2 separate regions of the Homo sapiens genome follow, and region 2 is linked to region 1. The links are contacts of gene promoters, found by promoter capture Hi-C in blood cells and fetal thymus (Javierre and others, 2016). All regions are on one chromosome and are shown on one strand. Each heading gives the region's core, a stretch centred on a gene start or on the middle of the fragment in contact. The rest is flanking DNA. Distances are from core to core; before and after follow the strand shown. Region 1 holds the start of ARID3B (AT-rich interaction domain 3B). Region 2 overlaps LOC124903524 (a long non-coding RNA gene).

Evidence for each region. The method cuts DNA at HindIII sites, captures the fragments that hold promoters and counts their contacts. A CHiCAGO score of 5 or more calls a contact.
Region 2: a fragment that was not itself captured here is called in contact with the fragment with the promoter of ARID3B in region 1 in 11 of 17 cell types (megakaryocytes, erythroblasts, fetal thymus and 8 more); the score reaches 8.9 in megakaryocytes.

What each region holds. Positions count from the first base shown.
Region 1 is chr15:74,537,791-74,542,864 of GRCh38, reverse strand. ARID3B (AT-rich interaction domain 3B) reads right to left here and starts at 1,645. Exons shown (of 9, transcript NM_006465.4): 1 at 1,535-1,645. LOC124903528 (a long non-coding RNA gene) reads left to right here and starts at 1,777. Exons shown (of 2, transcript XR_007064719.1): 1 at 1,777-1,967. RefSeq lists enhancers at 650-709, 2,060-2,209, 1,784-2,325, 2,260-2,389 and silencers at 699-883, 1,400-1,759. The HindIII fragment of the contact is 12,648 bases long and covers 1-5,074 here.
Region 2 is chr15:74,370,402-74,375,597 of GRCh38, reverse strand. It overlaps LOC124903524 (a long non-coding RNA gene), which reads right to left. Exons shown (of 2, transcript XR_007064709.1): 2 at 4,386-5,196. Among named protein-coding and RNA genes, the nearest start is that of CYP11A1, 5.4 kb to the right of the region's middle. RefSeq lists enhancers at 7-56, 384-931, 1,413-1,462 and silencers at 1,063-1,122, 1,723-1,772. The HindIII fragment of the contact is 3,316 bases long and covers 2,289-5,196 here.

The DNA of each region.
Region 1 (5,074 bases), core at 396-2,895:
CTCCTTTTACTCCCCCACCTCTCCCCTGCAGGCCCTCACCCCCAACAAACTTCACTTGAGTTATGTTTCTTCAGCAAGTCTCCATAACTGAATGGATTACTATGCAAGGGCAATTTTAGGTGAACAGGACTTGCAACATGGCGTACAATTTTGTCATCACATGAAAGAAGCTGCACTGCACATGTTGGGACTTGATATCTGCATTGTTCCAGTGTTTTAGGATTGGGTCGAAAGACAAAAAACAAAGTGTCTTTAGTATCTTCAAAAATTCACGGAGAAGTAATCACATCTTCAGCAATAAAAACTGCTTGGATTTAAGATTTTTTCCAGGTTAGAGTAAAAAAGGGTACAATTTTTAAAGCTAGGCCAATTAGTAGAGATTAAAAATTCTCATTTTCTGTTTATCTTATAGCCCTGTTTGTGCCTTTTGTGTTCTGTGAAAGATTCGCATTCCAATTTGCCTCTTACTGCCTTTACTTCCTCTCTTGGCACTTCAGAAAGTGTGAGTTACGCTTGCAGCAATACTTTCATTCTGCTTTAGCTCTTCTTACAGTGTAAAAAAGCATGACAAGATTTACATCCACATTAAATTCAGTTGGCAAAAGTGTTCATTTAAAATGAAAACAATTTGGGTCAAAGAAAATTACAGAATAAAGCAAATAATTCGGTGTTCATTTTAAATGTCCTCATAGTCATTACAGTCAATCAATCACGATCGGAATAACTTCTCAACCAAGTCCTGCCAGTCACTGAACAACTGCTTCTTGTCTTGTGGCACCATCTTCTCTGAATGCTGTCCCCAGCAGAGGGGGAGGTGTCCCTCCCACAGCCTCTTATAGTAAGACTGAGATGACTCAGTTCTACAACTCAATACACACACCCTCCCCCAAAGAGCCCATTTTCCCGCAGTCCCTAAGCAGCCAGCGATCCAAACAATGCCACCTGCCTACATTTGGAGAACTTATGTCTCAAATCTAAACCTCTTCATCCCTTCACACGGGCCCCTCCCCCATTTCCCCTAAAGTTCCCGGACCACCAAGCCGGGTACAACGGACTACCTGCAGCTTTGAACCCGGCCTGCTGACCATTCCCCTGCTTTTGCTGCCGGATTCTTTTGGCCCCGGGCCCCTGTAAGCCCCACAGCCCACCTTCCCGGTCACCCCTGCACGCCTCCCCCCATTCTTTATTCACCTCCCCCCATTCAGCCCTATCATTTTTACCTCTACCAACCCTCCCAGCCAATCCGCTGGCTCTTCCGATGGCCCCCGCCCCACCTATCTGCGCGCCCACTCAGCTCCAGGGCCCCTCACCCTTCTCATCGCTTTATCTCAAACGCTTTATCTCAAATGCCCTAATGGGCACAGGGCGCTCGGGGCTCCCGCGGCGCTCTCACTTTCCTTCGCGGTCCCCGCGCCCCCGACTCGCGCATTCCCCTCTCTCTCTACACCTGCCTCGGCTCCTGGCCTCGGCCCCTCCACCTGTCGCAGCCTCCTCTCCCGCCATGCCTGAGGGAGCCCGGACCCGGGCCACTTACCTGTGCGGGGCACTCCGGGTTTTCGGGCGGCGGAGGAGGCGGCAGCTCAGGCCCCGGCGCGGCAGCTGCGTCTCGGACTCCTCCGCAGCCGGGGGCCACAGCCGGGGCGGGGCCCGCACCGGAAGCGGCGCCGCGGGGCTGGACCGCCAGCCAGGGGCGGGGGCGGGGGCGGGGCGGGGCCACAGGGGGCGGGGCGGGACCGAAGCCGGAAGCTGCTAGAAAGGGACCGGGGGGCGGGGTGGGACGAGGCGGAAGTGACTCCTACGGACCGCGCAGCCCGACTGAGTTGTGGGAGGAAGCGAATGGAAGCGGGCGGAAGCCTCGGCCAATGGCAAAGTGCGGACACAGAGGGGTTCCGGTGTGAGCACTTCCGCGGGGAGTTGAAAAGAGCTGGGCGGGAGATCGTGTTCTCCGAGCGTTTTCTATTGCGGAGGTTGGTGTGGCTTGGGCGGTTGGCTGGGAGGAAAGTAACTAAAGAGCAGAGGAGTGTAGGGTTTGCCGTCGCTTCGGTCCCCTCCTCAATCTCCTGCCTTCAAGCCGGTCTTCCTCAGAGGTTCTCGTGTTTAGATCAGCTTGTCTCTAAACTTCTCCGCTCCTTCCTGGGACAGAGACCTGGCTGTCCCGAGAATGTTGCGTCCCTTGAAACTTTCTCACATGAATTAGTATTCTCAGGTCTCAGTTTGCAGAGGTCGGGATTATGTGCCAGGTGCTGTCACCTCTTGTAAAAACACTTGCTTCTTCAGCCCTTCCCCTTAGACTCTGTCACCTACTTCACCCCGTTTGGAGATAATCTGCCGATCTGTGTATCCAGCTCCTTGTCTGTCTCCCGTCTGACCATCTTTGATAATTTCAGAGCCTATGTGGCCAACCCATTCAACATCGGGCCTCGTCTTTAGCGACCCTTATATCAGCCTCCCAATCCCAGTTAAAACCTGGACCTTGTCCCTCCAAACGCTATCGCGTCACGACTCAGTAATTTGAACAACCCTCTTTTCAACCACAGCCTGCTATTCTCTCAGCTTGACTACTTTTGAATTATAGGCCTGATGCAGTAGCTCACGCCTGTAATTTCAGCACTTTGGAAGGCTGAGGCAGGCGAATCTCTTGGGCCCAGTAGTTGGAGAGCAGCCTGGGCAACAAGGCGATACCCCATCTCTACAAAAAATACAAAGTTTAATGAGGCGTTTTGGCGCATGCCTGTGGTCCCATCTACTCGGAAGGCTGAGGTGGGAGATCACCTGAGCCCAGGAGAGGCGGAGGTTGCAGTGAGCCATGATTGTGCCACTGCACTCCAGCCTGGGTGACAGAGACACTGTTCCCCCCCCCCAAAAAAAATAGAATTACAGCATAACTGTTATTACTGTTATTTCACTTTTTTTTTTTAGAAGGAGTCTTGCTCTGTCGCCCAGGCTGGAGTGCAGTGGCGCAACCTCAGCTCACTGCAACCTCCGCCTCCTGGGTTCAAGCAATTCTACTGCCTCAGCCTCTCGAGTAGCTAGGATTACAGGTGTGCGCCACCAAGCCAGCTAATTTTTGCATTTTTAGTAGAGACAGGTTTCGCCATGTTGGCCAGGCTGGTCTCGAAGTCCTGAACTCAGGTGATCCGCTCGCCTCGGCCTCCCATAGTGCTGGGATTACAGGCGTAAGCCACTGCACCCGGCCTGTTCTTTCACTTTATCAGAGCAGAGCATCTAATCGGTTGAAAGCCTCTACTTTATCTCTTATACATTAATCCCCTCTTCACTTCCTTCCTTATCCATTTTAGATTCAGTGGTACATTAATACAGTCCTGCCCCTACTTAATCTTAATCCCACCACAACACTCCTTTTTCCCCAACGAAATCCCTCACCCTGGATGGACCTATGTGTTTCTCCTTGCTTGTACCTTGTCATAGAAAGTTGTCCTGTTGCTGGGCGTGGTGGCTCATGCCTGTAATCCCAACACTTTGGGAGGCCGAGGTGGGCGGATCACGAGGTCAGGAGTTAGAAACCAGCCTGGCCAATATGGTGAAACCCCGTCTCTACTAAAAATACAAAAATTAGCTGGGTGTGGTGGCGCATGCCTGTAGTCCCAGCTACTGGGGAGGCTGAGGCAGAAGAATCGCTTGAACCTGGACGGCGGAGGTTGCAGTTAGCCGAGATCACGCCACTGCACTCCAGTCTGGGTGACAGAGCAAGATTTCATCTCAAAAACAAAAAAATTGTCCTGTTGAGGCCGAGCACGATGGCTCATGCCTGTAATCCCAGCACTTTGGGAGTCCGAGGCGGGTGGATCACCTGAGGTCAGGAGTTTGAGACCAGCCTGACCAACATGGTGAAACCCTGTCTACTAAAAATACAAAAATTAGCCGGGCGTGGTGGTGAAGACCTGTAATCCCTGCTACTCCAGAGGCTGAGGCAGGAGAGCTTGAACCTGAGAGGAGAGGTTGCAGTGAGCTGAGATTGCATCATTGCACTCCAGCCTGGGCAACAAGAGCAAAGCTCCACCTCAAAAAAAGAAAAAGTGTCCTGCTGAACAGATTGGCGTCACTACATTAATAAAGACCAACTTTAAATGGACTGTGGGTCAGGTGCGGCGGCTCACACCTGTAATCCCAGCACTTGGGAGGCTGAGGTGGGTGGATCATGAGGTCAGGAGTTCGAGACCAGCCTGGCCAACATTGTGAAACCCCGTCTCTATTAAAAATACAAAAATTAGCTGAGCGCAGTGGCAAGCACTTGTAATCCCAGCTACTTTGGAGGCTGAGGCAGAAGAATTGCTTGAACCCGGGAGGTGGAGTTTGCATTGAGCTGAGATCGCGCCACTGCACTCCAGCCGGGGTGACAGAGCAAGACTCCGTCTCAAAAAAAAAAAGGACTGTGAACTGTGACTAGAAATTTCATTATATTTTTCTAGTCAACTTGCTCTCCACGATCTCTACAAATCTCTGACCTATACCCTTACCACTTCCCCTGACTTCCTTATCATGTAAGTAACAGAAAATGTAGAATGTCCTGAAATCGAGAAACCTACTTACTTGCCTTCCCATCCTGTCCTTACCTCCTATTTATTCAATCAAAAATATTCATTCAACTCCCACTATATGCCAGACCAGGCACTCATGTAGGTGCTTACTGAGCAATGGACAAAACAAATTCCCTGCTCGCAAGGATCTTTACTAGTTCGAGGAGAGAAAACAAGTATGTAATGTCAGGGATATATGCTAAGAAAACAAAGCAGGGTAGGGATTAGACAGTGGTGTCAGGTAGCTGCTATTTTAGATGTTAGTCAGAGAAGAATTTATAAGGAGCCCTTAAGCAGAAACTGGCCTTGACTTAATGGGTGTAAGCCATGTAGATATCTAGGGGGAGAGTGTTCCAGGCAGAGGAGACAGCAAATTCAAATGCCCTGAGGCAGGAGCCTGCTTGAGGTGCTATGGGAATAGCAAGGAGATCACTATGTTGATTCAGAGTGAGTGATGGGGAGAGTGCTAAGAGACCAGATAAAAAAGGTAGCTGGGGCCTTACCATGCAGGGCCTTCTCAATTATGGCAACAATTT
Region 2 (5,196 bases), core at 2,697-5,196, 170 kb after region 1:
GTCCGGCCCAAATTACTTAATTTTTTTTTTTAACAGATCAGTCAGAGGGATGGCTGGCCTAGAGTAACCAGTCAACAAATAGGAACTAATACCAGTACGGTTTTTATTGGGTTCCTCACACCCTCCACGGATGGTGAGAACTAACTTAAGTCTCCTTTTCTCTCGAGCATCTCCATCTTTCTGCTGCCCTCTAGTGGAGCCCGGCTGTATGTCCTGAGAGGACACGAGATGAACTTGGTTGTGTCCGGAGAGGTAATTTCTTGCTTCAGATTTCAAAGAAAGTGTGCCATTTAAGGAAACCTGGTGATTGGTTCTTGTACAGAGTCAAACAACTAGTTTCTCCCCCATCCTCCCAAGCGGAATGCACCTGTGGTTGGCATTTGTGTGCTGGTTTGTTGGAAGCAGCACTTTACTACAGTGAAAGGGCAACAAGGGCAATTTTTCTTCTTGACATTGATGATAATTGGCCATTTTCACTTTTTACAGGTGCAGTAACCCCAACATATTTCTGTAAACTTCCTTACCTGAGCTTTTATAGCAACCAGGTGGGGCCACATGTTGTCCCAGCCTGGTCCCCTGCTCCCATGGACCTTGCGAGAAGCGAAAGGACAACCACAGAGGGTGGGGGTTCTGTGCTGGGCACTGGGTGTGCAAAGCTGTATGTGATGTAACCGTGGACCTTGGAGAGAGGTTTCTTTAAGGGAAAGATGAGGATGGAGCGGGGCAGGGGGCAGGATAGGAAGGAGCCTGGATACCTACCTGGTCTGGCTGCTGGGAGGTCAGTGAGAGCGAGGGGAGGGGCAGGCCAGAGTACTGGATTGGAATAGTCCCCGGGCCCCCTGCTGGGGAAACTGAGTTCTGGGAGGGACAAAGCTGTGCCGCACACCTGGCTACCTGAGGGACCCTGGAGCTTGGTCTGTCGCAGCACACCTGTGTCTGCGGGCAACACGGCCGATGGCCACTCCAGATGCTCGATCAATTCTGCAGCTTAGGCCAGTCTCAGAAGGCTCCGCAACACCTGCGCCAGGTCTCTGCGCCTTCCCCACGCGTTCACGCTCCAGGTCCTCACGCCTCTCAGCCCTGGCCTTGGTCCCGCCCCCTCATGGCCAGCCAATCCGAGAACCCCAGCAACCCCCTCGTCCAATGCGGCGCCTCCGGGTCCGCGCCCGCCCCGCCCCCTCCACCGCAGCCTCTGTAGGTGGATGCTTTCCGCTGCTCCGGCCGCCGGCGCCCGAAGCCAGCATCCCAGCTGCGGCCCCCACCAGGAGGTGCTGGAGGGGACTGCGGCTCGTGCCCCGGAGCCAGTCCTAGGCTCCGGAGCCAAGCGTGTCTCCCGGCCTCGTTCCCAGGATCTCCCTTCTGGAAGCCGCACCTTCTTCTCGTGCGCCCTCCCCACGGGCAGGGGATACATCCCGGAAGCGGTGCAGGGGAAGGCTCTGTGGACAGGGGCGCGGGCTCTGGCTTCAGCCCTGTTCTGGCTCTCCTGGATCCTCCCCTCAGGCCCTCAGCCTCCTTATCTGACAAACGGGGATTTGCGGCTGCCGGGGTTGGCTCTGGGACCATTTAGCCTACAGTGCGAGTTCGGACGGAACGGACCATGTAAACCAAATAAGTCCACTGTGGGCTGTGGCTGGCTCTCCCACTCCTTTCCTGGCCCCCCGGTAGGGCCCAGACTCAGCCCGGGGCCCCCAGTCCCCTGCCTCGCGAGCCCACCTCCTTCCTGCACGCGGGCGGCTGGGTGTCCGAGCCCGGCGCTGTTGCTGTGGGCTTTGGCTCCACCTAGTGGCACAAGGTTTGATCTGAGAGGCGCCGGCTGAGGCTCTGGAGTGAAGGAAGCGGTATCTGAATGGCTGAGAGAGAGACTGGAGCAAGGACAAAGTGGCATTTCTCTGCCTCAGCTTCTGCCGCAGACCTGGCTGAGGGTGGCCTCAGTCCACTCCGCCCTCTGGTTCCGAGGGGAGGCTGGGGTACTGTGCACTTGCCTGTGCTACTGTGTTAGCTTTTTCATGTTCTCCTTGTGGGGTGCTGTCCTTGTGCCACGTGGAAGCCTCTCATAGCCCGCTGGCCCCATGCACACCTGCCTGGAACACTGAGGCTATAGTCGTCGAATAAGTGTGGGCCACCGCTCTGTGGCCGACTATGTAAACCAGGCAGGTGGCCCTTCCCCTCCTGCCCCCACTACCTACTGTCCCCAGGAGGGAAGAGGTGCCCATGCCAACCTCCGTGGCTCACTGGTCTTGAATCTTAGTGCCCTTAGCAGCCCCAGCCACTGGTTGCAGTAAGAAGCTTCTTGCTTACATGACATGGCATGGCATGGCTTCTGTGCCCTTGTCTGACTGGCCCCATCCTCTTCCTCCTCTGGAACTGGACTCTGTCTCCATGGTCCAGCCACGATGGGTGTTTTTCCTTATGTGCCTGTGTAAAGGGGTGCGAGGTGTGTCAGGGGGAGGACAGGGAAGAGCTGTTGGCCTGGTTACTTATGTACTGCCCGCTAGAGAAGCCCGCAGCGGGGGCCTCCCAAGGGCCCATGTGAATATTTCACAGCTGAAGAAAAAATGATTGGCTCTCAAATAAGAACACTGCAAAATGGAAATCAATAAATTCTTAATCAAGTGTCCAACTGTAACATTATATCAACCTCATTAACTGTTAAATTTAGTATTCATAAAAATTTCATTACATCTGAAAGAATGTGTGGGCTAGGTTTTTCTCATTTCACAAGAATTCCCAATTGTAATTTAAATCAGTCACTCCTAGCCAAATGGTTTCAAGAGCAAAATTATAAATATCCTTTCAAAAACTTTACAGCAAATTTTTAATATTTTAACATGTTTGCACTGAGGAAGTGAAGTGAAGCTGTAAAAATAAAAATGAAGCTGAACGCGGTGGCACGCGCCTGTATTCCCAGCTACTCAGGAGGCCGAGCCAGGAGAATTGCTTGAGCCCAGGAGTTCAAAGCCAGCCTGGGCAATGTATAGAGGGGGACAAGGAGCCACAGTGTGCACCCAGGCAGGGAGTGCCTGGGTACTCATTCACCCTTCAAGTTGGGGTGTGGGGGTTCCTCTGGACTTACAGGAGTGATGAGGATTTAGAGGAGCAGGGAGAGGCTGCCCTGGGTAGCTAAGATTAGGGCTCAGGTTCCAGTTCACCATGTGGAGTTAAGTTCTCATAGGAGGGCTGCAATGGGTGGGCCCCTAGGAACAGCCCTCAGAGATGCCCTTTGCAGAGGCTCCCAACCTGGCAACACTCCTTTGCCGGGGGCTCTGGGCCTTTGACTTCTGGGTCCAGTCTTCTCCCCTCCTTTACCCCAATTACTCCTGCCCCTAAAGCTATGTCAACTCTGTCCCGTATTTCCCTTCATTTCACTCTTGTTGGACAGAAGGAATAGCCCAGGATCCATAAAAAGAAACAGTCCCCAAAGCAGGGACCCCTTTCCTCCAGGACACAGAACATTCAGTCTTCATAATCCCTGACTACATAAGCCCTGGCCCGGGCAGGAACAATGTGTTTCATTCCTTCCTTGGGAATGTCTCTTTACCATATGGCCACATGACCCCTCCCAAGGCCAAACAAACAAACAAACAGGAAAAACCCCAAACAGCAAAAGGAATCTATTTAATAATAGTTTTAACAGCCACATCTGATACTTAAGCTGAGAAATGCCATAACCTTGAGTCCCATCTCTAGGGCTGATTTCTCTCCAAACATCTTAGGTCCTTGCCTCTCCCTCCTCCCTTTAAACTGTTAGAGTGGGGTGACACCGAAACAGATGAAATGCCCTCAGAGAAAGAAATAGGGTGGAGTCGGGGGGACCATCTGACTTAGTGAAATACCCTGAGCTGTGCATGTGAAAACAAACAGGGAAAGAATCACCTAATTTTCATGTATGGTGTCCATACCCTAAGCTGAGCAAGAGGGTGATGTTTAAGGCAATGATATTAGGTGGGCTACTTTGAGAACCTCTGAATCTTTTAAGTGCTTTTTTTTATCTTGCAACAGCTCTGAGAGGCAGGTCTGATTATCTCCATTTTAAATATGAAAAAATTAAGTCTCAAGTAGCTCAAGTGTCTTGCCCTATGCCACGCGACCACTCAGTGGTTGAACTAGGATTTGAACCTGAGTCCATGTGGCTCCAAAACCGTTGCTTGTTTCATGATACAAAACTGTATTATTATGTCTATGGTCTGGCCAGCACCTCTGCTAGCGGATGTATTGCCATCCAGAGCAAAACGACATTGTCCAGCCTCCCTGTACCTACCTCCCTGTACCTAGGTACAGTCATGTGGTTACTGAATGGAAGGTCTTGACTGAGTTGTCCAGGTTCTTGGCATGTTAAAGAATTGAACAAAACGCACAAAGCAACAAAAGACAAAGCAACGAAAGAATGGAGTAATGAAGGCACAGATTTATTGAAGATGTGCAAGTACAATTCACAGAGCAAGAGTGGGCTTGAGCAAGTGGCTCAGGAGCCCCTTCAATTAGAGATTTTATTAAGCTAAAGAACATGAACACCCCCGGTGCCCTCCAGAGGCCTCCAATCAGTTACATCCAATGAAGGATTGATCCGTGACCAATTAGAGGCTTAAGTGGCGACTTGGCCTGTGGTTATCACAGAAGTGAAGATGTGGCCTGTATGTTGCCTAATCCTGCCTAGAATTGGCTGTACCTGCTGTGCCTTTTGCTTATGTGAACTGGCTGCACCTGCTCTTCTTTTGTTCCTACCTTAATCCTTGGTTGCCCTAATTCCCTATTCTCCTGCCTCAATGTGGTTAAGTTCCCACCAATCAGATATGGTTGGACTCGTGTGGGACTTTGAGGAAGGGGCTTAAATGAAGCTGGCTCTTCAGGGAGGGCCCCTTTTGGTCTTCTTGAGTTCTTCCGCCTTCTGGCCAGCAACACGGTTAATGCTCCAGCAGCAGCTTGGACCATCGGGTGGCCTTAGAAATGCCAACCAAATGTCTTCGTGGTGAAGCAGGAAGATGGAGCCTGGCATTTTGCTGGGACTGACACACTCACCCTGGACTGCCCAGCCTTGGACATCCTTTATGGGAGAGAGAATACACTTCTATCTTCTTTAAGTCTGTGATTTGGATTTTCTGTTTATCCATCCAAGCTGCCTGCAATGAATAAAATCATGTTCCCCGTCCTAGGCAACGTTTAGATGGGTCTAAATGTGTACACCCTCTACTCTGAGAA